Regions from separate parts of the Homo sapiens genome. Here regions 1, 2, 3, 4, 6 and 7 are each linked to region 5. The links are contacts of gene promoters, found by promoter capture Hi-C in blood cells and fetal thymus (Javierre and others, 2016). All regions are on one chromosome and are shown on one strand. The core of a region is centred on a gene start or on the middle of the fragment in contact, and the rest is flanking DNA. Distances in the headings are between cores, read along the strand shown. Region 1 has its middle 33 kb from the start of CHST11. Region 2 overlaps TXNRD1 (thioredoxin reductase 1). Region 3 has its middle 70 kb from the start of EID3. Region 4 has its middle 53 kb from the start of CHST11. Region 5 holds the start of NOPCHAP1 (NOP protein chaperone 1). Region 6 has its middle 3.1 kb from the start of LINC02385. Region 7 holds the start of NFYB (nuclear transcription factor Y subunit beta).

Region 1 (3,923 bases), core at 965-3,464, 560 kb after region 5:
GTAAGCTGTTGGGTCAGACGTAGGCCACCCATCTGCTATCGCTTCATCAATAATAAAGGTCAGAAGGGAGTTCTGACAAATCTCTGCCTTCTGCAGGCAGCAAAACACCTTGTGCTCCAGTGAGAAGTGAGGAAGAACAGTAGCTTGCTTTGAGTGCCCTTTAAGACCCTGTGGTCCTCCAGGTGCCCCCCTGGCCATCCATCTGGGAGCAATCAACATTCTCCAGCTTCCCTGGGTAGTTCTGTGCTGTTCAATTATGCAGCTACCAACCCCGGCATGTGAGCAGAATTTCTAACCAAAACCCCTACCCTGCAACAGAGAGGCGTATCCAAGGAGACTGGCAGGTAAATGCGAACACGATAAATCAGGATCTTGATGCTGCATTCTTATTGCCTTTTTCCTCTGAAGGGACTTCTGTGCTGTCCTCTCAGCAGACTTGTTACAGATGTCATCAAACCTTGGGTGGCACCTGAATGAGAATGTCACCCCATGTAGTTCCAGAACTGTTAGGATACAATCCTCTTATTCTGGAAACCCAATTCCAGCTCCCTGCTGAAGATCTGGCTTGGTTGGGAGGGAGGGAGGAATCAATACTACCGCAGAAGGATCTCTCGACTCTTCCTTTCTGTGCAGCTTCAAAAAGACTATTTTAAAGATATTTGCATATGCCTTCATTTTCAGGTCACTGAAAAGATTCTACCTAACCAAGCATAAGAACTTAGTCCACTTATAAGCCCAAAAGACAAAGATGGTGGCAATATTTTTTTACAATGGTTACTGTCAGAAAATTGGAGTTGAGTGTCTGGAGTTGAGCAGAGGAAATTCACATTTGAACTAACAGTAAAAGAAATAATAAATATTCTTGGCCCTCAGCTCATATTGTAGGCATTGGATCATCCCTTCTCTGACTCTAACATCAAGTTTACAAGGTTTTTCCTTCTTTTAATTCCCCACCTGGCCGTGGTACTGAAACTTTTAGTCTGGTGCAGGGAGTGTCTTCACCACCATATGTCACTGCTTTGTCATTGATAGTTTCTTCTACAGAACTTGTGTAAATGAAGAAGCAATTGGGAACTTCCAGTGTGTGTTCTGACCCTGCAAGTGGGCCACTAGTGGTATCCTGAGCCCTGAAAACCTGTAACCTGACAATATTGCTAGTTCTGGTGGAATATGTTATTGTATACATGTTGCTTAAATTAAAGCCACCCTCACTGGTATCTCATCAAAACCAGTCAGCCTACTGTGCATTCTAGAGGATTTCTTCTACAGAAAAAATGCAAGTGCATTGTCTCAGGGATAGGACCCATCCTCAATACAATTAACAGTCTCATTGGGAAAAATTTCAAAATGCAGGTGAACACATCGACAAGCCCTTGAACTGCATGGCAGCGGGAGGAGGTTGGCTCTGAAGTCTAAGCAAAGATGTGCAACATTTAAATTACCTGAGAAAATCCTTTAAATGCTCATCAGGTACACAGTCTTCCTCCTGCATCTCTACAAAGGGCTAGCATGATTAGTTTTCCCTCCAATACTGGGGCAGATTTCTGTTTCTTTGGTTGTCCCCAAAGATGAAACAGCAGGCTTGTACTTGGAAGATATTTCATATAATGATGTATCTTTTAGGCACTTTAAGTGCAGAGGCAGGATGCTCACACCACACAAGTTGCATGGAAAGTAAGACTGGGGGAACAGTTGAATCTCTTCTCTCCCTCTGGGATGTAGACTCTGGCTTTTTACCTGTCCTCCATAAACATGTGGAACCACTGCTCATTTTACCCTGCACACACTGTGGTTTTCCACTTGCTAACTTGATCAAGGATGCCTTTCTCCACAGTCTCTCTCCTATTCAGCTCATGTGTCACCTCCTCCACGAAGCCTCTCGAATCAGCCTCCCTTGCAAAGCTGGGTTATATGACCCTCTGTATCCCACAGGATCCCGTTCGTCTCTCTATCATTATGCACTATTTCATTAGAGAGTTTCTGTTTCTGCCTCATTACACGGTGAGCTCCTGAGGACTGTAGCTGCGTCTCACTCAACTCAACATTGCCACATATATTGGCGTCTAGAAAGTGCTGGGTAAATGTTGAGTAAGTAAACAAATGGTTGGCTTTAAAGGATGGCTAGGGTTGAAATAGACTGATAGGGTATTCTGGGCAGGAACAAAACTATGTGCCTGGCACAGAGTAAATTTTCAAAAAAAGGAAACTGCTACTATTGTTTGTAGTGCTTTCTGGAGAAATGGAAAGACTGATAAGGCCCCAAAAGCACTTCTTGAGTGGAAAAATCAGATCCAGCATGGTTTTGTTTTTTTTTTTTTTTTTTAGAAAGATCTGCTAACTGTCATGATAGTGACATGGGGCCAGCTCCCTCAGTGAGGTTACTGAAGTCATTGAAGACTCACAGACTGGTGTATGTCAACAGAAGGTGGGCAGAACCAACTTGTAGGGACTCAGTTGCCTTTCCCTAAGCCAGTGTACAAACAGAAATGCTGATTGATTTTCCTATTCACCACAGGAATCATAGCTCCTTTTTGCAAAGTAGACCCATTCGTTTCTCCCAGGCAGGTCTTCAAAGGAGGCTCTAAATTTGAGAGACATTCGCTCAGTCATCAAATGATTGAAGTGGCAGGGATCTGTGGTTCTTGAGAAACATTCCTATTCTAAGGCCAGGTGCAGTGACTCATGCCTGTAAATCCCAGCACTTTGGGAGGCTGAGGTGAGAGGATTACTTGACCCCAGGAGTTCAAGACCAGCCTGGGCAACACGGTGAGACCCTCACCTCCACAAAAAAAAAATTAAACAATTAGCCATGTGTTTGTGGTGCACACTTACTATAATCCCAGCTACTTGGGAGGCTGAGGTGGGAGGATCGCTTGAGCCCAGAAGTTCAACCAGCCTGGGCAATGTAGTGAAACCTCATCTCTACAAATTAAAAAAGTAATAAGGTAGCTTGAGGTAGTCAGAAAGAACCTCTCCTCATCTGAGAGGGTCAACATTTTTTTGTGTGTTTTCTCTGTCTCTGCTTTCTGTGAATATCTATGCCCCTTACACCCCTTCTGGACTCTTCCTTTAGGCATATTAATGAGTTAGTCTTGTCTTAATTGTGCCTAGGAGCCATTTCCAGGTTAAAAGAAAAAAAGACCATGTCTTTCAGGAGTTTACCCTTGTAGGAAACACAGACTTGTAAAAATAATTTCAAAATAAGGGAAGTGCTGCAGGAAAGCTGTCTTTGGAACCAGAAAGAGGGGGAAAAGGGAAAAAGAGTAAAATCAAAAGAGCTGGGTGTGACTAATACTAACATAAACCAAAAATAAAATTCTAAGTCCACAACTGGCCAATGGACCCCACCCTCTTGGCCAAGGGCATTCCAAAGTTAACCTGAAAAGCTAGTTCAAGCCATGATGTGAAGTGAGGTTCAGACATGCCTCATTATACCCTCCTCCCATTGGAATTTAGGCACAGCTGACTAGCATTAACATAAAAAGAGAGACCTTAATACAGATAGACTCTTTTACGTCTGATCAGAAATATTCTCTTCTGTTGATTTTATCTGCATAATGGGAAACTTGGTCACCACAACCCCTTATCTTAACCCAGACATTCCCTTCCACTGATTCTAGGTCTTTAGATAATAACTCTTTCAACCAATTGCCAACTAGAAAATTCTTGAATCTGTCTATGACCTGGAAGCCCACTCCCCCCAGAGTTGCCCCCCTTTTCCAGACTGATCTTATGCGTATTGATTGCTTGATGTCTTACGTCTCTGTAAAATGCATAAAACCAAGCTGTAGACTGACCACCTTGGACACATGTTCTCAAGATCCCCTGGGACTGTGTGATGAGCCACTGGTCAGTCATATTTGGCTCAGAATAAATCTCTTCAAATATTTTACAGAGTTTGACTTTTTTCATCAACACTGACT
Region 2 (4,115 bases), core at 709-3,208, 640 kb after region 5:
AGTCCTAATCTGAGTCTAAAGTCCCAAGAACCAGAGCAGCAAGGTCTGAGGGCAGGAGAAGATGGATCTCCAAGCTCAAGGGCAAAGAGTAAATTCACCTTTCTGCCTTTTGTTTGATTTGGGCCTCAAGGATTAGACAATGCCTACCCACATTGGTGAGGGTGACCCTCTTTACTGTCTCCTGATTCGAATCAGTGTTAATCTCTTTCAGAAACACCCTCACAGAAACATCCAGGAATATTTTACCAGCTCTCTGGGCATCCCTTAGCCCAGTCAAGTTGACACATAAAATTAACCATCCAGGCTAGGACAGTGGCTCATGCCTGTAATCCTAGCACTTTGGGAAGCCAAGGCAGGGTGATCACTTGAGCCCAGGAGTTCAAGACCAGCCTGGGCAATAGAGCAAAAAACCCAATCTCCACAAAAACTTAAAAAATTAGCTGGGCATGGTGGTGCATGCCTGTAGTCCCAGCTACTTGGGAGGCTGAGGTAGGAGGATGGCTTGAGCCCAGAAGGTCAGAGGCTGCAGCGAGCTGTGTTCGCACCACTGCACTCCAGCCTGGGAAACAGAACAAGACCCTGTCTCAAAGAAAAAAAAAAAGTAGCCACTCACAGTGGGTATAAAATGGTATCTCACTTCAGCTTGATTTGCATTTCACTGCAATTTAATTTGCATTCCCCCTCACTAGTGAGGCTGACTTTTTTTCTGTTTAGGCCCTTTCTACTTTCATTAACATTTAAATCAATGGCTCCTGACATAACAGGAAGAAATTAAAAGGCTTCCTATATGGCCATCTCTGATAGTTATGGCTCTACCTGTCAATCCAATTACACCAATGTTCTAAGTGCTTCTGTAGTGCCAGACCTTGTGCTAGAAGCTGTGGGGCACACAGAGGTAAAGAACCCTCATTATCTAGTGGTGGTGACAGAAACACACACTACACTCCATGCAGAGTAATTCAAAGAGCTCTAGAGACAATACAGAGTACCCTGGGAGTAGAGGTAGAGAACCAGCTGGAAGTTACGCAGAGCAGGTGACCTTTGAGGGAGGCTAGTAGTTATATGGGGACATAGAGCAGGTGTAGCCAGAACAGGCAAGGGAAAGCGCAGGCTAGAGCTGCAGATAACAGGTTCAGGGTCTGGCAGGGGACTGTGGGTCTAGTTACAGGCCTTGGGAAAACCTCAAAGGCTTGAGACAGGGAAGTTCAGGCAATAAGAGCCTGGCTCTAGTGGGAAGTAAACTGGCGGTGGAAAGTCCAGTTAGGAAAGTGTTAGAACATCTCAAGACAAGGTATTTATTAAGCGTGTAGACAGCATTGCTTGACGGCATGTGAAAATGTGAAGTCCCAGGAATTGATGCAGCAGACCTAAAAGCTTCCATTTGTCAGAGATGAATGGGAGGCTGCACTGCGAGGTAACTAAGAGGTAGCGCCTTTGAGGTCACAGACCCAACTCTGGCCTCAAAAACGTGATGCATTAACTGGCTGTGTAATCCTAAGAAAGTGACTTACACTTCTGAGCCTGTTTCTCCATCTATAAATGGGTACAAAAGCACCTTCTCTAATAGGATTGTTGTAAGGATCACATCAGCCAGGGTGTGTCAAGCACAGTGCCTGCACGTGTTGCAGTAAACACTCATTTAGCTGTTGTTATTACTAGCACCCTGCAACTACTTACCACAAAAACAAGTACAAACTGGGAAGGTTTTTGGTAAAGATTACATAAAAGAGGAGTTTCTGCTTAAAAAGTGATACCTAAGAAGATTAAGTGCATGTGAATGCATAATCTGAACATGGTAATCAACATTTCTGGAAACATTTATTGACCATCTATGTGCCTGATACTGCCAGAAGATGGGAAATGGCAATGAACTGATTAGTTCTTCTATACTTAAATCAGCATAGCATCATTGGAGCCTACTCAGCAGCTAGCTTTTCAACACAATATCAGAGATCTACTCAATACTCTTGCAAAGACTCCCAAGACCATCATTCAGTAAGAAGGCACACGTGGATATTATTAATGCCTTTTAATTTTAATGTTTCACATTGTTTTGTTTTTTTTCAGAAGATTTGTAACAAAAATACATGGAACTTAGTATATGTTTCAATAAAATGGGTAAATACAGAATCTGAACAAGACAAGTCTATAAGATATAATCCTTCTTGTGGGGATAGAACATTCCACTCCACTAAGAAAAGAGAATCACAACATGATTAGGCCTGATTATCTCATACCGCCTACTGTTCTAATTTCAGAGACTGGTGGACTTGGAGAAAAAAACAAATTAAAAATAAATAAATAAAACTGAATATGGTCAACTGCCTCAATTGCTCTCTCCTTTTCCCTTTTCCCATTTCTTTACACAGCCAAATGAGATGAGGACGTGAGGCAGAGCCCTGTGGGGGACGGTCAGGGGCTCTGCTGCCTAAATGCCAGGCAGATGCATGGGTTCCCTGAGGTGGCCCAGAAATGTATTTTGACCACTCAGTGCTGCAACTGAGAAATACAGGTAGAGTAGCAGGAATGAAAAAGAAGCTTCAAGAACTGCTGGCAGGAGGCCTGATGTCCACAAGCACGTGTTCAAAACTCAACCTACACAGTTAGAAAAGACAGCTGAGATAGAATCCTCAGCCAGTACATTGACAAACACATAACTGAGGCATTAATACCTCTTTATAATAATGCAAGTTGAAATGCTAACAAAGCATAAACACTTCTGCAAAAATTCCACAAGGCACAGTTGTTCATTCAACAGAAAAAGTCAAAACCACTTGGTTTTTAAATGAAAATCCTTCACATCCACCTGTGTTCAAAATATTAATAATAACTTATGATATTAATAACTTCCTTTAAAAAGCAATTACCACAAAACAGCTAAATCATAAGCATGAAAAGACTTATTTTCCTACTAATGTAGTCTTAGAAAGAAATAGATACCCAATGTCATTATTTTTTTTAGCATAAAGCTAAAGCTACCAGAAAAACTTTTAAACAAGTTACGTGTTTTCCATTGCAAATGATCTCAGCTTGCTTAGACCAGCACACAATAAACTAAAGACAGAAAGATATGTACTGTTTCTCCCCCATTTCTGGTGTATGTCTGCCTCCATGACAAATAATGGTGAGAATCATACTATACTACCAAATGCCAGGCAATGGCTGGCCAAGTAGCCATTTCCCTTCCTAAACAGACCTTAAAATAATAATCATCCATCATGTAGCACACAGGGGCAAATTTGGCTAGAGTTGATCGCAGATGTACTTGTTTTGGGAATATATGAGAGAAGAAACTGCTGAGCAGGTCAGTAAAGAACAGTCCATTTCAGCTGCAGGACAGTTCTCTTTCCCGGGACAAGCCTACATAGCCTCCAAGGGAGCCAAACTATCCCTTCCATGCAACAAGACACCTTGCATGGATACTCTAGCCATGACTTGCTTTTGGACAAAAATCAACTGCTAACGTTTTTCATCTCTAATATCATTAACACCATGGAGAAAAAAGAAAAAAATTCAACCCTAGAAAACTTGACAACGAGAATAAGAAAATCCACAAGGAAAGGTCATGCTAAAACTGATTTGACAGTTGTTCCATCACCGCCTACCACATGGGCTTGAGACTGGTGACTTCATGGATGCATCCCTTCGATGCCCTGCCAAATGTCAGCTTCAAGTCTGTCAGTGACCCCAGTGTGATGCTGCCTGCCTTCTATTCACCAACTCCTATCCAAGAGATCCAAGGGGGCCTTGGGCGGTGGTAAGCACAGGACACGCAGGTGCCAAGAGCCCAAGAACCCTCTAGAAAACTTCGCCTTGGATTTGGGCACGGAAACGAGCCAGTGGTTTGCAGTCTTGGCAACAGCATCCACACTGGGGCTTAACCTCAGCAGCCAGCCTGGAGGATGCTTGCCCCAGAGCGCTTGGTCACAGACAATGTTGTGAATACCTGCAGGGGAAGAGAAAGCACAACATCTTCAGATGCCTGAGCAAATGAGGTAACAGGGAACAGTTCAGATAATGCCATATGCATTAAAACCATCTTAGGCGACTACCAAAATGAATAAAACAGAGAAGTAGTATGATCAAGGATATCTTCTATTTCTCCAGAGAATAAA
Region 3 (4,145 bases), core at 627-3,126, 610 kb after region 5:
TAATGAATATTCTTATCCTCAAATCCTTAGGAAAAATTCCTAGAAGAGGAATTGCTGAGTCAAAGAGCGGGTGCATGCTAACCACTGCTGATAGTTATTGCCTTACAGAAAGATTTTCTATGAGGAATGTATGAGCAGCCCCCCACCTGCCGTGAGCATTAGTGGACCATTTTATACAGATCCACAGCCCTTGTCTGAATCCCTTGGGACCTGATGTGTTTGAGAATTCAGGATTTCCTAGAGAAACACAGTGTGATTTCTGCATACCCTGTCAGATTCCCAGCAACGTCTAACAGATCCACAGTCTAACTCATTCATATTTCTTCAGGAAATCATGTGAACGTCCACAATAAGTGAGATAAATCAAGACCACAATGAGCCTTGTGGCAGCTCAGGGCAAGTTTTCCCATGAATAAACTTTCCATTTTCAGAGTTTTTGCAGGCGGGATTTCTGGAGGGGAACATGTGCACCAATGTCAAGTTGCTCTGCTGCTTTGCAAGGGAAATTGGCTTCGGGAAGACACGAGAAGGTAGCTCAGGAGAAAGATTAAGTCACCTGCTTGGGAGGAAAATTAGATCTGGGTTTAAATCCTAGCTTCACCTACGATAAGCTGGGTGACCCTGGGCCAGTGACTCACCCTTTCTGGGCCTCAGTTTTGTCATCTCTGAAGAGTACACCCATGCCAGAGCTGTGGAGATGACAAAGGATAAGGTGTATGTAACGCTTAGCACACACCTAAATGGCGTTGAATCGATGGCCTTCAACAACTTGCGCTAGTAAATGGCAGAGCTGGGAGGTGACAGCTTCTGCTTTTCCCGCAGTGCCAGGTGGGACCAGTTGAACACTAAGACCCTTCTCATCTGGCAGCCCCCAAAGCCAAAGCCCAGAATTCCCACTATAATTCACTCAAGCAGAAGGTCCAAAACTTTGGGTGGAAGGAAGGCCCAACAGGAACCTCAGTGGAATTTCTCTCAGTGGCCCCACATGGCTTCTGCCCACCTTGGTGGTGCTGGGGCACTCTGTCTCCCTGGCGCCCTACTTGGGTGGGGCCAAGCCCAGGCCAGCCCCACCCACATCTCCGCCGGGACCTATTTTGGTGTCCCAGTGTGTGGCTGTTGCAAATGAAAGCCTGAACAGTTTGATGCTACAGTTCCAGGAGCAGGCCAGCCCACCACCCCTCACACCCCTCCCTGGGCAGGACACCAGCAGGTCCCACAAAACATCAAGCTGCCTCATTAAGGACAGGGGCTGTCCAGCGGGAGGGGGTGTGAGAATGGGCAAAGGTGTGGTGTCCTCTGTCAGACCACAGGTGGGTGCTGTGGTGGGAGGGGAGTGTGAGGGCAGCAGGGGTGGCCGGAAGGGATACAGGTCTGCAGGGACAATGCGAGGCCTCTTTCCATCTCATCCGACTCCCACAGACCTGGGGGAGTACAAAAATCATCCCTGGGATGTTTACAAAACTTGGGAAAAAAAAAAAAAAAGAAGGAGGAGAAGGTACAGAGTGGGAAATAAAGGCCTGAAAAGGCCTCTGTGGAATCCCTGCTGTTTGCAAAGCTTCACCGACACAGATTCTAGCACCTCTGTTGCTAAAGGCTCTTTGCACTGAGAACTCTTTCTGACATGAGATTGCCTTTGCCAAGAATAATTTTGCCAGCTCTGAGTTGCTACCCACCAGGAGGTGGGGAGATGGAAATTTCCAGAAGCCCCCTATCCAATGGGGCCTTTCACAGCTCACTCAATGGACTCTGGAAAATAGCAAACCACCATCTCATCTGTTTAGAAAATACTGCAGGGGTTTCTTTAAAAGAGTTTAAAACATATTCTAGAATCCACTGTAAAACATTACCAAAGGTGTTTCTTAATTGCTGCTAATTTTACACAGCAATGACTTTATCTCTAAATGGGCCTTTCAATCTTCATCTATGTAGATATACACGTTTACATTCTTTAAATCACAGTATTATTAAATTTCATTTAGCAACATCCCGTAAACCTGTTCTCCTGGTTTGATAGTCCTCTTGTTAATTCTAATAATAGCATGCCATTTCATTGCATTCATATACCACAGATTTCTTAACCAGATTGTACAAAATAATTTTCTACCATTATAAACAATGCTGCAATGAACATCTTTGTGTATATGCTCTTTTCACATATGAGCTGCTTAAATTAATTTTCAGTCATTTGCTAAGCTTATGTTTATTGGGTACCTACTATGTATGTTAGGACCTAGGGGTAAGTGAACAGAACAGATGCAGTCTCTGCCCCACAGTCTAAATGTTCTATATTTTAATAATTTTTGGGTCTTCCTGTGTGAGGCTCAAATATATTTTTTAAAATCCTCTGAGTTTAAAATGGTAGCATTTGCAGCTGAGAAAGTATACACTGAGGGCTGCCAGCTTCAGGAGGAGATGGAACACAGAGTTTCCCGACATTGTTGGAGGTGGGGCTGGTGAACCACACCCCTCTCTTGCCTACTCATGGAGCCTGCCAGGGTCCCAGGGATGGACAGCAAAGTGGCAGCTCATTTTTACAAGAGGTAGGCTGGGGATGAGGCCGGGCGTGGTGGCTCATGCCTGTAATCCCAGCACTTTGGGAGGCCAAGGCGGGCAGATCATGAGGTCAGGAGATCGAGACCATCCTGGCTAACACGGTGAAACCTCATTTCTACTAAAAACTCAAAAAAATTAGCCGGGCATGGTGGCGGGCGCCTGTAGTCCCAGCTACTCGGGAGGCTGAGGCAGGAGAACGGTGTGAACCCGGGAGGCGGAGCTTGCAGTGAGCCGAGACAGCGCCACTGCACTCCAGCCTGGGCGACAGAGTGAGACCCTGTCTCAAAAACAAAAAAAAAAAGAGGTAGGCTGGGGAACGGGAAGCTGGGGACAATGTGCAAGGCTGCCAAGACTGCAGTGCACAAACGAATTTGCCCATCCTTCACAGGGGCTGCTGGGGGACCTCTGCAGACCTCCATCCACCCCCAACCCCAGGGCCTGACCCTCTTCACCCTTGGTGGGAGCTGGCTCCCACAGGGGAGGGATGAGCTGAGCACACTCACTCTTTCTCCTGAGCTCCTTAAATCGGGTAACTCTCTCCTCTCCTGACAGAGGCCGGGATGCTGCTCTCCTCTGGGGGCCCTTCTGCATGGACACATAGATGGAGACCTAAAGCTCATGGGCAAGGTTGGCCAGTCTCTGCTGCTTACAGCTCCCTTCCCCCACCTGACACGCACTCCTAACACTCATCTCCTCTCAAAGCCCAGCCTGGCCCTGCTGGGCTTCCAGGGCCTTGTCAGAGGTCCTTCCGGGCCAGGGAAGTCTTGGTACTGCCCGTGCAGCACCCAGGGGCTGGGAGACGGCTGGAAGTGGCTGGACGGGGAAGGGCAGGATTCTCTCCTCAGCCAGCATCTGCTTCCACCCTGGCGCTGCTGGGACTGCCATTCAGGAAGGTGGTGGATTCCGGGGCAGATGATCAGGAGGCAAATCCCGCTCCCCCAGCTGCAAGCTGATTTTCTGTCACATCATGGTGGCTTCAGCATGGCTGAATTAACTGATTGAATCCTTCCTCTGTGCCAGGCATGGCGCTGGCCTTTTGACATCTTTGCTCTATTGGATCCTCTGAGCAGCTCTAGGGTCCAGGAGCATTCATTGTTTCTCCTTCACACATGAGGGTAGATGACTTCTCCAGGATCACTATGCTAATGGGCAGTGACTGAGTTCAACCCAAAATGTGTCTGACTCCAGAGTTGTAGTTCCCAGCCTTTCTGCTTTGTCGTGTATACAGCACCTGGTAAGCCTTCCCCACCCCCTTCCCTAGTCTCTTTTGCCTTCTTTCCTGAAAATGCATGAATTGCTTTCAAAACCACTTCTTGCATTAACAAAGAGGAAATAAAGAGGTTCTCAAGATGTCTCTGAGACAAGGGGTCCCCAGCCTCTGGGCTGTGGACCGGTACTCATCCGCTCTGTGGCCTGTTAGGAACTGGGCCCCACAGCAGGAAGTGGGGCGAGTCACTGCGGGCAAGTGAGCGAAGCTTCATCTGTATTTACAGCCGCCCCTTATCCCTGGCATCATCGTCTGAGCCCCGCCTCCTGTCAGATCAGTGGTGGCATTAGATTCTCATGGGACCATGAACCTTATCGTGAACTGG
Region 4 (3,922 bases), core at 1,421-3,920, 580 kb after region 5:
CCAAACACCTTATATTTATTCTCTGCACACAACGTTACTGATATTAGTGTGGAAGTGCATTCTTCGTGACACTAGAGCCATCTCAGCTAAGAGGCAACCATTTTTTTTGCCCTAGTAATTAAAAAATGGCAATTGCTAGTTATTAAAATAGGAAAGTAGATAAATAGCGATGATAATTACTGCATTTTTCTCTTCAGAGAAAACAGCAATACTGTATGTAGTCATTTTCGATAAATATAGAAAATAAGTAATTATTGCTGAAGCTATTCATTATGAATCTCTATTCGCAATCTCACTTCTGCAAACACCATTCATTGTTTAAAATAATGGTTCTAAAGGGCAAGGCAAACTTCTCATTACCGGCTGGCAGGCACCCGTGGATGGAGAGGTGGCAGGCACACGGGGCAGCTTGGCTAGTTGGTCATCTCAGTGCTGATTGTGAAAATAAGTTTGAAAAGATAATCTTATCCAACATAGAAAAAAACAAAAAGAGTGGCCGGGCGCGGTGGCTCACGCCTGTAATCCCAGTACTTTGGGAGGCCGAGGTGGGCAGATCACGAGGTCAGGAGACCAAGACCATCCTGGATAACACGGTGAAACCCCGTCTCTACTAAAAATACAAAAAAATAGCCGGGCATGGTGGCAGGCGCCTGTAGTCCCAGCTACTTGGGAGGCTGAAGCAGGAGAATGGTGTGAACCCGGGAGGCAGAGTTTGCAGTGAGCCGAGATCGCGCCACTGCACTCCAGCCTGGGCGACAGAGCAAGACTCTGTCTCAAAAAAAAAAAAAGAAAAAAACAAAAAGAGCAAAAAAGACTAGCGCATCTGTCTGTGGGCCAGCCAAGGGCGGCTGCAGGTCAGGAGCTCTAATTAAGCAAGGTGCAGTGGGTGGAGGGGAACTTGGTGTCCACTCAGCCACAGTGCTGTTTTCATGTCTAACCTTGATTGAACCAAGCTTCTCAGAAAGCCCAACCCTAATGGAAAATAAATTCTGCTGAATTCGAATGGAGCCATTAACGTCTCCCTTCTCAGGTCTTGAAACATTTATTTGCTTTAAAATACACGCACTCATCTCAGTTCTATTAGGAGTCAGAGCCAGCTTTTGCCTGGGAGCAGATTTATCTCTGCCCACACCCTCCCACCCCCTTGCTGCTCTCCTCCCCAGGCAGGGCTGAGCCGCAGCGGAGAAGGGACAGGGGCAGAGGCCAGAGCATCCCAGGGGCTTCCCTCCTCATCAGCTCATGGGAGTTGCCTTAGTACCACCCTGCGGTGCTGAGTCCTGATGGGCCCCAAGCCCCTGTCCCTCCAGGAGCTTCCTTTATGATCTGAACAAGTCCTACTCTCAATGATTGGAGAAAAAGTTTTTTGTTTTTTTTTTAAATTTGAGACAAGGTCTCACTCTGTTGTCTAGGCTGGAGTCCAGTGGCCTGATCGTGACCTCCTTGGCTCAAGTCATCCTCCCACCTCAGCCTCCCAAGTGACTGGGACTACAGGCATAAGCCACCATGTCTGGCTAATTTTTTAATTTTTTATAGAGACAGGGTCTTGCTCTATTGCCCAGGCTGGTCTTGAACTCCTAGGCTCAAGCAATCCTCCCAGTTCAGCCTTCCAAGATGCTGGGATTACAGATATGAGCCACCTGCCTGGCCCTAGAGAAAGATTCATAATCCAGTGTCAGGAATTTGTTCCAAATGCTGGCTTCATCATTTGAGGAAGCCTGTCTTCCTCCATGGGTCTTAGTTTCTTCATCCATTTGGAAGGACAGGCTGGATCTGCAGTTCCCAGGGGGGTACTGTCCCTATGAGGTGTTTTGGAGATCTTCCAGAGCATCTCTGATTATCACAATGATTAGAGACACCATTGGCTTTCATGGGCATTGGCAGGCAATGCCTGGGACAGTCTTGCACAGCAAAGAACTGCTTCATGTCCCATGTGACTTTCAAAAACCCCACTGCACATTCCCATACCTGTGTGACTTTGTGAAGTCACTTTGCTTCTTCATACTTTTACTTTCCTCTTTTTTTTTTGAGATGGAGTTTCGCTCTCGTTGCCCAGGCTGGAGTGCAATGGCACGAACTCGGCTCACTGCTACCTCTGCCTCCTGAGTTCGAGCGATTTTCCTGCCTCAGCCTCCCAAGTAGCTGGGATTACAGGCATGTGCCACCACACCCGGCTAATTTTGTATTTTTAGTAGAGATGGGGTTTCTCCATGTTGGTTAGGCTGGTCTCGAACTCCCGACCTCAGGTAATCCGCCCGCCTCGGCCTCCCAAAGTGCTGGGATTACAGGTGTGACCCACCGTGCCCAGACTACTTTCCTCTTCTTTAGCTAAGAAGTATTGTTCTCAAGGCTCAGGCCAGGTTGGGCAGTGTAGGAGTCTATGAGAGGAATTCAGATAAGTATGTTCATTCATAACAAATATTTCTTGAGCACCAACCAAGCACTGGGTTCTGGGTTGGATGCTGGGGATACAGCACTCAGTCAGACACATGTAGTTCTTGTCTGCACAGGGCTCATAGCCCAGTGTACTCAAATCTGTGATTCTGGAAAGGATGTTATGCCCCTTTAATAATTAACACTCAGTCTCTATTTATGTGGCCCCATTAGGTGCTGGGCATGGAGCTACTACTAGAGATTCAGAGATGAAGGGCAGTAGGCAAGTAAACAGCAAACCAGAGGTGGTGGAATCCATCCTGTAATGCAGGTTGCATATTACAAGATGAGAGCTACTATTTGTCACATACTTACTATGCGCCGGACCAGGAGAGGGACTTTTGTTGTTGCTGTAGAGACAAGGTCTTACTCTATCATCCAGGCTGGAGTGCAGTGGCACAATCACAGATCACTGCAGCCTCCACCTTCCGGGCTCAAGCAGTCCTCCCACCTCAGCCTCCTGGGTAGCTGGGACTACAGGTGCACATCACCATGCCTGGCTAATTTTTTGTACTTTTTGTAGAGATGGGGTGTTGCCACGTTGCCAAGGCTTGTCTCAAACTCCTGGGCTCAATCGATCCACCTGCCTTGGCCCCCTAGGCCAGCTCACGAGAGGGACTTCACATACACGATGTCATTTGAGCCTCACAATAACCACATGGAGTAAGCCAGCCTGTGTGTCACTGTCACAATTTTTGCCATTTCCACCTGCTACCTTTTGTTATTTACTTGACATTTTTCTTTAACCAACTTGCATAATTAAACCAATCCTTGTCCTAAGTGATAATATCTCTGAAATCATAAGGCTGATGAGGTTTTTGTGTGTGTGTATTTAATACTTTGTTGTGGTCTGAATGTGTGTGACCCCTCAAATTCATGTGTCAAAACCCTAAACCTCAACGGGATGGTATTAGGAGGTAGGGCCTTTAGGAGTTGATTAGGTCAGGAGGGTGGAGCCCTCATGAATAGAATTGGTGTCCTTATAAAACGAACCCCAGACACACATACGTGATGGAATACTATACCATATTATACCATACTATACCAATACTATACCATACCATAAAAAAGAATGAGTTCATGTCCTTTGCAGAGACATGGATGAAGCTGGAAGCCATCCTTCTCAGCAAACTAACACAGCAACAGAAAACCAAATACCACATGTTCTCACTCATAAGTGGGAGTTGAAAAATGAGAACACATGGGCACAGGGAGGGGAACATCACACACCAGGTCCTGTTGGGGGAAGGGGGGCAAGCAGAGGGAGAGCATTAGGACACATACCTAATGCATGTAGGGCTTAAAACCTAGATGATGGGTTGATAGATGCAGCAAACCACCATGGCACATGTATTCCTATGCAACAAACCTGCACGCTCTGCACATGTATCCCAGAATGTAAAGTAAAATAAAAATAAATAAATAAATAAATAAACAAAATTTTTTCAAAAAAGAGACCCCAGAGAGCTCTCTAGCCATCTTTCCATCATGT
Region 5 (4,020 bases), core at 805-3,304:
TGTTCCACTGGACTATCTGTGGTTTGATACCTGACAATGAAGGCAGAGACCGTCCCACAGCTTAATCAGACAAAACTCAGCATTAGAGAGGGTGAGAGAGGGGAAGAGGTACTTACAGGGACTCCTCTCTATCCGAACTGTTTGAAGAGTGGAGGTCTTTCTGGACTTAGGTTGGGAGTTGATGAGCAACCTGTCCCATATACCTGAAAATACAGACACACAAACACCCTTAATTTACTACAGCATAAAAAAACAAAGGCCCATCAGTAAGCCTCTCACATGACCAGTCTTAAGACTTGACTGTCCACACTCCCCCAAAATTTTTTTTTTAAAGGAGAACTCCAAGCTCCATTACAACATTTTAATTCTTTATGTACAGCCAGCCACCTCTCCTTTCTTACATCTGTCTCATTCACCTCTATCACCAATGGCAGGTAATAAATGCACACCAATCTGCACTTTTCTGGATCAGAAATTCATTAGCAGACAAACGTGGGTCTGCAATGACAGAACGGAGGAAACAGTACAGAGCATAACAATGGTTAAGTGAAGCCAGAAATGGTTACTAGTTGTGTAACACTGGGCAACTTACCTGATCTTCAAGCATTTGTTTCTTCATTAGTAAAACATGCTTGCCTGGTATTTCCCCTTCCCTGAAGACGTTCAACCCAAGGAAAGCAGCCTTTTGGGGATTTTGTCACCCACTCTACCTTTCCAGCCTCATTTCTCACTACTCAAATCATCCCAACTCTCTATCCCATCAGAGTTCCAAGAGGGGAACGTACAAAACTCAAGGCTTTGCACACCCTATTTCTAATACCCGGAAAATCCCTTAACTCTCTGGTTAAAAAACAAATCCTGTTCACCTGCAAAGCAGAGCCGCAACAAACATCCATTGAATGCCTACTACTTAAGGCCTACTGGATTCGTGATCAGAGCACAGAGTCTGGAGCCAGACTACTTGAATTCAAGTCCCAGTTTTGCTACTTTCTAGCCACATGATCTCCAGAAGGTAAATTACCTGTATGATAAATCATGTCTCAGGTTCCTCAACTATAAAACAGAGATAACAGATTTTCTGCAAAGGGTTGTTGTGAGGATTAGATGAGTTAGTTTCTGGGGCATACATAGTAAGGACTACATAAGCTTTGGTTATCATTATTATACTTCCTTCGGAATCTCTGGGTTCTCACAAAACCTTTTCTTCAAGCTAGTATTTACTGACAACATGCCCAAGCCTTTTTAGGCATTCTCCTCCTCACAAAAATTCTACAGGCATTACTACTATCACCATTTTCCAAATGCAAAAACTGAGGCTTAGGGAATGAAAATAACTCTAAGTCCCACCAGTTAATTACTAGTGGAGCTGGGATTCGAACTCGTGCTTTTAAATTCTACCTATAGTGTCTGAAATGCTGTGTGGATTTCCTGGATGCATGTCTCCCTCTACAAGACAGCAGCACTAAGGGGTGGTCTGTGTGGGTGTGAAAGAGGTAGGGACTGTTAGCATAATATTACTCCGCTTCCCCCTATCAGCCAACTGCTCCGACCCAGGCAGCCAAACCAAAAGCCCTCCCTTCCCCAAAAGAACTCGAGAGCTTCCCAGCTTCCAGGGCAGGGCAGATGCCTGGCAGCGGCGCCTGGCAGGGTGGGCGCTCACTACCTTGCAGAATATAAGAACCACTAGCTGGGGAAACCATTCCGGGCCCGCAGCCGGGTGCCCGCCCCAAAGCCCCCACCCCTGCCGCGGGCAGGGCACGCCGGAGCCCCGCAGCAGTCCCCGGGGCTCCCCTCGAGGGTACGGAGCCCGGGCAGGGAGCCACCGGCCGGCTCCCAAACTGCACCGGCCGCGCCTCCTCTGCCGCACGTGTGCGGCCCATGCCGCCGTCACCCGTCCGTCACCTCCGCGGCCGTCGCTTCCCGCCGTCAGCAGCTCCTTGGACACTGGGACTCCTGAGGAATCCCGGGTGGGCGACGAACAACTCGGGCTAGCCTTGGGCTTGCCATGGACCTCCATGCTTCCCTCAAGCCTGCACTCTCAGGCCCGGATGCAGGAAAAAGGCTCGGGTAAGGGGGCGGGGAGAGGGCCGCGATTGGAGGAAACTGCGGTGGGCGGAGTAAGGAGCGGAGAGAGAGGCGGGGCGAGCGTGGTGCAGCCTGGAGGCTGCGCGGGAGCAGGGGCCATTCCTACTCCTGGGAAAAAGAAAGGTTCAGACACTGTCATAGGAAAAAACAGCGGGCAAGGCTCGATTTCGCCAAATTCGGGCATAAAGAGCATAACATTAGGCTTCCCTCCTCTTTATCCTTTTTTATTAAATTTTTTTTTAATTGGTGAAAAAACACGTAACAAAATCTACCATCTTAACCATTTTTAGTTGTACAATTCAGTGGTGGCAGACCTCTAGATCATTTTCATCTTGCAAAACTGAAACCTTATACCCATTTACCCCTACTCCAGTCCCTTGGTAACCACCATTCTACTTTCTTCTTTGTTTCTTTCTTTTTGAAACAGCCTTGCTCTGTCGCCCAGGCTGGTGCCTCAGCCTCCCAAGTAGCTAAGATTACAGGTGCACACTACCACGCCCGGCTAATTTTTGTATTTTTGTATAGAGACGGGTTTTCACCATGTTGGCCGGGCTGATCTTGATTTCCTGACCTCGGGAGATCCACCCACCTTGGCCTCCCAAAGTGCTGGGATTACAGGCGTGAGCCATCATGCCCAGCTACCATCGTTCTACTTTCTGTTACTATGAGCTTGACTACTTCAGATACATTATGTAGGTGGAATCATACAGTACTTGCCTTTTTGTTACTAATTTCACTTAAAATAATACCCTCAAGGTTTAGACATGTTGTAGCACATAACAGGATTCTCTTCTTTTTTAAGCCTGAATAATATGCCATTGTATGTATATACCACATTTTCTTACCATTGATCTCTCAACAGGCGTGCTGGTTGCTTCCACCTCGTGGTCATTGTGAACGCTGCTGCAATGAACATGGTGGTACAAATATCTCTTAGAGACCCTGCTTTTCAATGCTTTGGGATACATACCCAGACATGGGATTACTGGATAATAGGGTAATTCTACTTTTTAGGTTTTTGTGAAGCCTCCGTATAGTTTTTCATAGTGGCTGCACCATTTTACATTCCCACAGTGCACAAGAGTTCCAATTTCTCCACATCCTTGTCAATATTTCCTTTTTCTGTTTGGTTGCTTCTTTCTTTTTGACAGTGAGCATCCCAGTGAGTGTGAAGTGATATCTTGAAGTTTTGGTTTGCATTTCTCTAATGATTTAGTGATGCTGAACACCTTTTCATGGGCTTGTTGGCCATTTATATATCTTCTTTGGAGAAATGACTATTCAACTCCTTTACCCATTTTTTAATCTGGTTATTTGTGTTTTTGTTGTTGAGTTGTAGGAGTTATTTATATATTCTGGATATTAACCCTTTATCGGATATATGATTTACAAATATTTTCTCCCATTCTGTAGGTTGCCTTTTCACTCTATTGCTTCCTTTCCTGTTTGTTCTTTTAACAGTCTTTATTGACCACCTGCAGTATGCCCAGACCCCTCTTATATAGGATTCAAAGCAGAAGCAGCAGAAACCTTGGACCAATCTTTTCTGCTTATTTCTGACAGTGCAGAGGCTCCAGAATCAGCCTGGAGTGGATTAAATCCAGTGTCATATTATTCATTTAGTAGCTGTGACTTTGGGCAGATCACTCCCTGAGCGTCTGTCCTTCTCTGCAGAATCAGGATAATAATACTTCATGGGGATGTTATAAGGAATAAAAGAGGAAAAGGAGTAAAATGTATGTAATGGCACTGGTGATACAGAATTATTGGGCTCCCAGCTAAACCCCACTCTAAAGCATGGAACTGTGGCCCTAAGTGACAATAGCTGACCCCATTTTTCGCCCAAATGTTGCCTTTTTAGCCTGCCATTCCCATATCCTGCGCCCATAAAAGGACCAGCTGACAGAGCAATATGAATGGCTAAGTGTTGGGGAT
Region 6 (4,058 bases), core at 719-3,218, 820 kb after region 5:
ACCTCAAATTTTTTTTCTCAACCTCCACTTTATCAGTTCAGCCTGTCCTGAGGACTTGGAAACATTCTCTCCAATGGTATTTCTGGTTTTTGTTTGTTTGTTTGTTTGTTTTTTGAGACCAAGCGTCAATCTGTTGCCCAGGCTGGAGTGCAGTGGCGTGATCTCAGCTCATTGCAACCTCTGCCTCTGGGTTTGAGTGATTCTCATGCCTCAGCCTCCTGAGTAGCTGGGACTACAGGCGTGAGCCACCACACCTGACTAATTTTTGTGTTTTTAGTAGAGATGGGGTTTCACCATGTACTTAGATTTATCATGCCTTGAAAATGGACCATTTAAAATGTTTTCTCACATGGCTCTACAACTTACTTGTCTTGGGCCATTTTTTAATTCCCTAAACTAGAGGTTCCCAGCCTTTTTGCACCAGTGATCGGTTCTGTGGAAGATAATTCTTCCACAGATGGGAGCAGGATGGGGGGATGGTTTCATCAGTCATTAGATTCTCCTAAGGAGCATGCAACTTAGATGCAGCCCAGATCCCTCACATGCACAGTTCACAATAAAGTTCATATTCCTATGAGAATCTAATGCCACTGCTGATCCGACAGGAGGCAGAGCTCAGGTGGTAATGTGTGCATTAGGGAGCAGTTGTAAATACAGGTGAGCTTTGCTCACTTGCCTGCTGTACACCTCCTGCTGTGCTGCTCGGCTCCTGCTGTGCTTCTCGGTTCCTAACAGGCTGTGAACCAGTACTGGTCCATGGCCCAGTGGTTGGGGTCCCCTGCCCTAAGCTGTATTGGACTGAACAGACTCTTGAATTCCAGAGACCTCCAAGAACTCAGAGGCACTCCAGGAACCAATAGAGGCAATTCAACAAGTGGTACTTTATTCACTAAGGAAGGATGGAACCCATGCCAGCAGACCTAAGCCTTCAGAGTTGGTGATAAGCTTACATATGAGATCACAAAATCAAAATCCTTCAGGCTTGTTACCAGTAAAGATTTTTAAACATATGTTTTGGAGGAAAAACTGATTTGGAAGTTGACAGTTCATCTGCCCTTTTGATCTTTGTGTCAGTCTATGCTTATCTTTTTATTTCTTGGTACATTACAGAGTTCTCATTAAGTCACGCTTGGAATGCATGCTTACCCTGTGCTCACAGTTATCTTTAGGGAGGGTTTGTGGCTAGTAGTCCTCCCCAGCAGGTGAGGGCCCAGGGCAAAATACATTCTGTCCCTTCCTTCCAACTCTAAATGTTTAAGGCAAGATAAGTCATATTAAAATTACCACAAAGAACAGCCTCAAGTGGAAAATAAGACACACAATAAGATGACTTAGGAACATAAGGGAACCCAGTATCCTATAACCTGTCTGCCTCTGGTGTTGCAGGAATTTGTGGGCTGACTGTGTGTGAGTCTTTCCATTATTTTCTATTGCTCACTAACTGAGCTATTGTCACACCCAGTTGGTCACCACACAGAAGCTGGATCCAGAAATACCACTGGAGGCCGGGCATGGTGGCTCACGCCTGTAATCCCAGCACTTTGGGAGGCTGAGGCAGGTGGATCACCTGAGGTCAGGAGCTCGAGACCAGCCTGGCCAACATGGTGAAACCCCATCTCTACTAAAAATACAAAAATTAGCTGGGCGTGGTGACAGGTGCCTGTAATCACAGCTACTCGGGTGGGTGAGGCAGGAGAATTGCTTGAACCGGGAGGCAGAGGTTGCAGTGAGCCAAGATTGTGCCACTGCACTCACTCCAGCCTGGGTGACAAGAGTGAAACTCCATCTCAAAAAAAAAAAAAAAAAAAAGTCTCACTTTTGCTGTTCTTCGTGCCTGTAAGTCCATTCTTTGGGACTGGATGGGTGAGTGTCTTTCTCACAGGCAGAAACACAACTTGATATCACGGAGAAAGGAAACAAGAAGAAAATGAAGCCATGCTGTATTTTAGCTTGTGGATATTAATGTTGCTATTTGCATCATTTCCCACAGTTGTTTTGACATGAATAGTCCAGGAGCGTGCTAGGCAAGGGTTTTCTGAGCATGGTGGTGGTCGTACGGGGTGGTGGTGGGGATAAAGTGGAGAGAGAGAATATGACAGGTGTATAAACTGGCCTGAGCCACCATGTTGCACAGCTGCAGGGGGTGCTATTCACTATAGTCTAAGTGAATGGTGCTCCCTGGAGTCATGCACGGCATCATCTGAGCCTTGGAGGTTTAAGAGAATAAAGTAATCATCTCACTAGTCCAGCTGAGAAATGTCCTGGCCGACAGACAAGCAGTCCTCTCCCAGCAGCCTAAACCACTTTGTCTACTCAGTGGTTTTTCTCTCTACTCACACCACTTAATACTTCACTTCTGACACCAGATGTGTGTGGGTTTTTCTCCATACACCAAGGAATTCTCGTCAGGCACCAGCTTTGCATCCTATAATTCCATTCGATTCTGACACTATCTAGAGATAGCATCAGATCCCATGGGTTGAGGACCCAGTCCCATAAGACTGCTTTAGATGCCAGTTGCAAGCCCAAGGTTGTGATTAGTGCTTCCAGCCAATCAGCTATTGAGAAGGAACAGAGGTCCCTGCTAGGCACCCTCAAGCATGGAAATAAAGGCAAATCTTGAGTTCATTTAAGGGAAATCCTGGGAACCTAGCTAGCCCTGAGAAGTAAATGAGCAACTTAATAAGCAAAAAGGTAATAGTAGCTTAAAACAATAGCCAAGGAAGTTAGAGTCATGAGATGTTTGGTTCTCTATAGAAACTAAAGATAACATGTTAACAAATAGCCCTGAGTTGTTCTTTAGAAATCCAGACCCCTGCCAAATGGATCCACTGGCACACGGACCTCAGATAAGGGGAGAACACTGAGGACTGAACTCTGGCTGCCATTCTTTGTTCTAAATTTCTTCCTCAGGGGCCAGGAGGAAGTCACGCCCATGGGCCAGACCTAACATTGTTTTCTGATGACCCCAAGTCTTTAGATGAAGCTTTCCTTCCCTAACCAATTGCAAATCAGAAAATCTTTTAATTGACCCATGACCTGTAAGCCCTTGGTTGAGGATATCCTGCCTTTTTAGGCCAAACTGATGTTTAACCTCCAAGTATTGGTTTACAATTTTGCCTGTAACTTCTGCTTTCCTGAAATTTACCTGTACCTTTAAAAACCCTTGGCTTGCAGAGGTCAGATCTTGAGCATGAACTGCCAGATTCTCCTTGCATGGCACACTGCAAATAAATGCCCTCCTTTCTCTCACTGCAAAATCTCAGCATGGATGTTTGGCCTTACTGTGCCAGGCAAGCAGGCCCCAGCTCAGTTTGGCAACACTATAAACTGGAGTTACCATGACCTCCTCCTTGGGTTCAACTAAATTGCTAGGACAGCTCATAGAACTCAGGGAAACACTTTACTTATGTTTATCCATTTCTTATAAAAGATATAATGAACAGATGGATGGAAGAGATGCATCAGAAGGCTTATGAGAAAGGGCACGGAGCTTCCATGCCCTCTCTGGGTGCTCTACCATCCAGGTACCTCCATGTGTTTGGCTATCAAGAAGCTCTTCAGGCCAGGTACGGTGGCTCACCCTTGTAATTCCAGCACTTTGGGAGGCTGAGGCGGGCGGATCACTTGAGCCCAGGAGTTTGAGACCAGTCCGGGCAACATGGCAAAACCCTGTCTCTACAAAACATACAAAATTAGCCGGGCCTGGTGGCGGGCACCTGTAGTCCCAGCTACTCAGGAGGCTGAGGTGGGAGAATCACTTGAGCCCAGGAGGTAGAGGCTGTAGTGAGACGTGATTGTATCACTGCAATCCAGCCTGGGTGACAGTGAGACCCTGTCTAAAAAAAAAATATTTTCAAACCCAGTCCTTTGGTGTTTTTATGGAGGCTTCATTACATAGGTACAATTGATTAAATCATTGGCCACTGATGATCAACTCAACATTTGGCTTCTTTCTTCTCCCTAGAGGTTGGTGGGGTGGGACTAAAAGTTCCAACCTCTACTTACATGATTGCTTCCCCTGGCAACCAGCCTTGGTCCTGAGACTGCTTAGGAAG
Region 7 (3,632 bases), core at 1,045-3,544, 850 kb after region 5:
CAGAGGGGATGTGGACCGGGTTCCATTTCTCCTAGAGTTCTGGCTCCTCAGGGTAAGGAGAGTGATTCATTCACCTTTGTAGCCCTTGGGCTCCTAGTACAATGCCTGCAGAATGTAGGAGCTGATATTACCTTTTAGTGGAATTTGAATTAAGCACATAGTTTAGATCCACAGTACTGAAATGATAAACTATTAACTCAGAAAAGTAGTCATCTTCGCATCTTTTGGTTCACCATCCAGAATTGGGAGAAGGATTAGTCATCTTTCTCCCAATTCTTTTTTTTTTTTTTTTTTCCTTTTTTGAGACAGAGTTTCATTCTTGTCGCCCAGGCTGGAGTGCAATGGCGCGATCTCAGCTCACCGCAACCTCCGCCTCCTGGGTTCAAGTGATTCTCCTGTCTCAGCCTCTCGAGTAGCTGGGATTACAGGCATGCGCCACCACGCCCGGCTAATTTTGTATTTTTTAGTACAGACGGGGTTTCTCCATGTTGGTCAGGCTGGTCTCGAATTCCTGACCTCAGGTGATCGGCCTGCCTTGGCTTCCCAAAGTGCTGGGATTACAGGCGTGAGCCACCATGCCCAGCCCCTTCTCCCAATTCTATTACTTTATATTTCCTGCCTTTGAACCTTTGAACACATCATTTCACTCCTTAATCTCCACTTTATGGGTAAGCATAGAGAAAGGGAGAAATTAAACTCAGGCCAATTTTTCCTTTTTTTTTTCTAAGCAAATAACACCTTTTAAATGTTTGATGGAGATTGAAGAAATTCATGCTATATAAAGATCTTAGGATAACTTTTTTTTTTTTTTTTTTTGAGATGGAGTCTTGCTCTGTCGCCTAGGCTGGAGTGCAATGGTGTGATCTCGGCTCACTGCAACCTCTGCCTCCCGGGTTCAAGCGATTCTCCTGCCTCAGCCTCCTGAGTAGTTGGGATTACAGGCGCCCACCACCACGCCCGGCTAATTTTTGTATTTTTAGTAGAGACGGGGTTTCGCCATGTTGGTCAGGCTGGTCTCGAACTCCTGACCTCAGGTGATCGGCCTGCTTCGGCCTCCCAAAGTGCTGGGATAACTTTTTTTTTTTAAAGGGCTTTCTATGTATACATTATCCCAAACAACCCTGAGAAGCAGACATTTGGCCAAGATCACAAGCCTGTAAGAAGGGGAGTTGGAATTCAAGTCAGGTTGTCTGATGACAGTGGCATTGCTACTTACTCCTCTTGTCACAATTTGGGGCTTTCATTTGTCTTTTCTTCCATACTTGCCGCAGAAATGTTTAAATACTCTGAGAAACAGTAGGAACTCTATAAATAAAAGATCTCTGTATTTTTACATAATCAAAGCTGGAGAGTTTAATGTGGTGCAGGCCACTCGGTTAGTGGAAGCAGAGGGCATGCCATCCCCAGCTCCGGTTGCAGTGAGTGGATCCAGTGTTGGATTACCCACCTCTGGGATGGTCACTGCTAAGCGAAGCTGAACTCAGGACTGCAGTTTGAGAAAGACAGCGAAGGAGCTTGGCTGCACAGAGGCAAGAACGGGCCACGGATTCTTGCAGCCAAAATGTCATCTGGTTGGGAAAAGCCGCTTGTCAATCTGCAGCTACTAGAGGGGTGGGGGTGGGTGGAAAATGCAGCATCTTAAGTTCAAGATTCAGGGTGAAGGCTGGCTAGACTTAGCAGGGGTCTGCATCTTTAGATGAAATGTGAAAAACACCCAAGCTCAGGGACCAAATGACAGGGAGCGCTGTGCATGCGGCGACGCTAACAGGGACCCAAGGAAAGAAAACACGAGGCGCTGAAGGCGCTCCAGGAGGCCCCCGCCGTTCAGACCCTCCCGGTGGCTCGGGCGCGTCGTCCTAGGGGGCGGCTTCTGTCCTTGGTTTCCCCTTCTTAAAAATCCAGGCGCAGGCAGGCTGAGCTCAGGCGGCTGAGGCACCTCCACGTGGCGGGGGAAGGGGTGACAAAGAGAGGGACGCCCGAGAGATCCCGCTTCGCACAGGCCCGGGTCAGCACCGGGAAGGAGGCCCGCCTAGACCCGAACGGCGCGCCCGGGCAGGGCCCTGGAAGACCTCGCGCCTAGAGGAGCGGCATCCGGAGCGGCGCGGAGGCCTCACAGGAACGCGGGACTGGGCCGGGGGCGGGGCGGGGCCGGGGGCGGGGCGGGGCGGGGCGGGGCCGCGGCGGGCGGGCGCGCGGGCGGCGCGGAGGGAGGGTGTCGCGCCGAGGGAAGCGGCCCGCGGCGGAGGGAGGGGAGGCCGAGTCCTGGAAGCGGAGCTCCGCGCTGGGACTGGTTCCTTCGCAGCCATTTTCTGTCCAACCAAACAGCCGATTGGAGACGGGAGCCAACCAGGGCTGCATTGGAGGTTTGTGTCTCGCTTCGGCCAATGATCGCTCCTAAACCGACTCCACTTTAGCTCGAATGAAATGTCCGTCTCCTCCCGGCGCCGTCCCCGCCGCCAACGCCGCCGCGGCCGGGGGCACTAGCCTCCCGCCCTCCCGCGCGGGCCGAGGCCGGGCCCCGCGCCTGCGAGGCCGCTCCCGCAGCGGGCCGGGCCGGGGAGCGGGCGCGGGGCCGCGGCGCGGCTCTTTGTGCGCCGGGCTGAGGAGCGGCGGGACGCGGGCCAGGCCACCTCACCCTCGCCGCCGTTGAGCTCCGGGCCCGGGGCCGAGGAGGGGCCGCGGGGCTGCGTCGGGGCCCCGCTCTCGACGGCGTCCCGGGCCGGCTCCATTTTGTGCGGGGAGCCGGCCGAGGGGCGGGAGACGCGGCCCGGGCCCTGGCCCCGTAGCCCCGGCGGCGGCGCGAGTCCCCGGGGGCGCCCTCCTCCCGCCCGCGGGGCTGTGGCGGGGCCCGGCGCTTTGTCTGCCCGCACATCCCGGGGGCCGCGCGGCGGGTGGGAGGCAGGCGTTGGGCGCGGGGCCGGGGCGGCCGGGCGAGTCAGGGGATGCGCTCTGGGGGCGGCCTCCTGGCACTCGCAGGGCTGACAGGTCGCCGGGACCAGGCCGTGGGGCCGGGGCCACCCAGGCACCTGCGTGGGGAGGAAGGCATGGCTTTAGCTTCCCCGCAGCCTGGTTTGCGCGTAAAGAATGCAGCCATCTGGCGGTTTGCGGTCCCTGTACTTGCCCCGAAGGTGGGAAGGAAGCCCTTCGGATTGGACTAAGGTTTTAATCATTAGTGGTGGGAGGCGGGAGGATATGCAGGGCCTTAAAGAACGGTAGTCTTAGAGAACAAAGAATTACAGAGCACCCACAAATCGTAATCTCGCCCAAAGCACTCTAACAGGATAATTTAAACAAGGTTAGGTAGCCTGCGACCTTTAAAAAAATGGCATCCCACTAACCCGCATGGACCCCATAGTTGCGTGGTTCGTGCTACAAATCACTGGGGTGGTTTCATCTCTCTTAGTATGGAAACTAATCAGCAACATAAAGTGATGAAAGCAAACGGATCAATATCAGTGGCACTAATCAGTGGGGGGTTTATTTGTAAAGTATTGAAAGTTTAACCAAAATTCCTTAAAAGGCAAATTATTCCTTCCCTGCATTGCTCTTGTATCTTAATTTAAGGATTACTGTATATTGATGCAAAACTCTGGTTGTTGATGCCAAAGAATGGAGGGTGGAGGAAGGGACTA

Evidence for each region. The method cuts DNA at HindIII sites, captures the fragments that hold promoters and counts their contacts. A CHiCAGO score of 5 or more calls a contact.
Region 1: a fragment that was not itself captured here is called in contact with the fragment with the promoter of NOPCHAP1 in region 5 in 10 of 17 cell types (naive CD8 T cells, naive B cells, total B cells and 7 more); the score reaches 8.7 in naive CD8 T cells.
Region 2: a contact is called between a fragment that was not itself captured here and the fragment with the promoter of NOPCHAP1 in region 5, in 2 of 17 cell types (activated CD4 T cells and naive B cells). The highest score is 6.5, in activated CD4 T cells.
Region 3: a fragment that was not itself captured here is called in contact with the fragment with the promoter of NOPCHAP1 in region 5 in 16 of 17 cell types (naive B cells, total CD8 T cells, total B cells and 13 more); the score reaches 11.5 in naive B cells.
Region 4: a contact is called between a fragment that was not itself captured here and the fragment with the promoter of NOPCHAP1 in region 5, in 3 of 17 cell types (neutrophils, total CD8 T cells and monocytes). The highest score is 7.2, in neutrophils.
Region 6: a fragment that was not itself captured here is called in contact with the fragment with the promoter of NOPCHAP1 in region 5 in 4 of 17 cell types (non-activated CD4 T cells, total B cells, activated CD4 T cells and 1 more); the score reaches 8.5 in non-activated CD4 T cells.
Region 7: the fragment with the promoter of NFYB here is called in contact with the fragment with the promoter of NOPCHAP1 in region 5 in 3 of 17 cell types (non-activated CD4 T cells, naive CD4 T cells and total CD8 T cells); the score reaches 5.8 in non-activated CD4 T cells.

Annotation. Positions count from the first base shown.
Region 1 is chr12:104,422,186-104,426,108 of GRCh38, reverse strand. No RefSeq gene overlaps it. Among named protein-coding and RNA genes, the nearest start is that of CHST11, 33 kb to the left of the region's middle. The HindIII fragment of the contact is 5,119 bases long and covers 1-3,923 here.
Region 2 is chr12:104,348,184-104,352,298 of GRCh38, reverse strand. It overlaps TXNRD1 (thioredoxin reductase 1), which reads right to left. Exons shown (of 17, transcript NM_001093771.3): 17 at 1,992-3,946. The coding sequence ends at 3,878. Among named protein-coding and RNA genes, the nearest start is that of EID3, 47 kb to the right of the region's middle. The HindIII fragment of the contact is 1,164 bases long and covers 1,377-2,540 here.
Region 3 is chr12:104,372,131-104,376,275 of GRCh38, reverse strand. No RefSeq gene overlaps it. Among named protein-coding and RNA genes, the nearest start is that of EID3, 70 kb to the right of the region's middle. RefSeq lists enhancers at 650-1,161, 2,724-3,479, 3,480-4,145. The HindIII fragment of the contact is 638 bases long and covers 1,558-2,195 here.
Region 4 is chr12:104,402,215-104,406,136 of GRCh38, reverse strand. No RefSeq gene overlaps it. Among named protein-coding and RNA genes, the nearest start is that of CHST11, 53 kb to the left of the region's middle. The HindIII fragment of the contact is 3,430 bases long and covers 956-3,922 here.
Region 5 is chr12:104,984,350-104,988,369 of GRCh38, reverse strand. It overlaps NOPCHAP1 (NOP protein chaperone 1), which reads right to left and starts at 2,054. Exons shown (of 4, transcript NM_152318.3): 1 at 1,903-2,054; 2 at 117-203. The coding sequence starts at 2,017. It overlaps LOC105369952 (a long non-coding RNA gene), which reads left to right and starts at 2,000. Exons shown (of 2, transcript XR_007063436.1): 1 at 2,000-2,067; 2 at 3,947-4,020. RefSeq lists a silencer at 1,575-1,824 and enhancers at 1,377-1,887, 1,888-2,400. The HindIII fragment of the contact is 4,173 bases long and covers 1,149-4,020 here.
Region 6 is chr12:104,164,823-104,168,880 of GRCh38, reverse strand. No RefSeq gene overlaps it. Among named protein-coding and RNA genes, the nearest start is that of LINC02385, 3.1 kb to the left of the region's middle. The HindIII fragment of the contact is 2,041 bases long and covers 948-2,988 here.
Region 7 is chr12:104,136,872-104,140,503 of GRCh38, reverse strand. NFYB (nuclear transcription factor Y subunit beta) reads left to right here and starts at 2,294. Exons shown (of 8, transcript NM_006166.4): 1 at 2,294-2,363. LOC105369947 (a long non-coding RNA gene) reads right to left here and starts at 273. Exons shown (of 3, transcript XR_945286.2): 1 at 1-273. RefSeq lists enhancers at 1,557-1,726, 2,550-3,141, 3,142-3,632 and silencers at 2,111-2,410, 2,461-2,560, 2,661-2,740, 2,801-2,930. The HindIII fragment of the contact is 8,431 bases long and covers 1-3,632 here.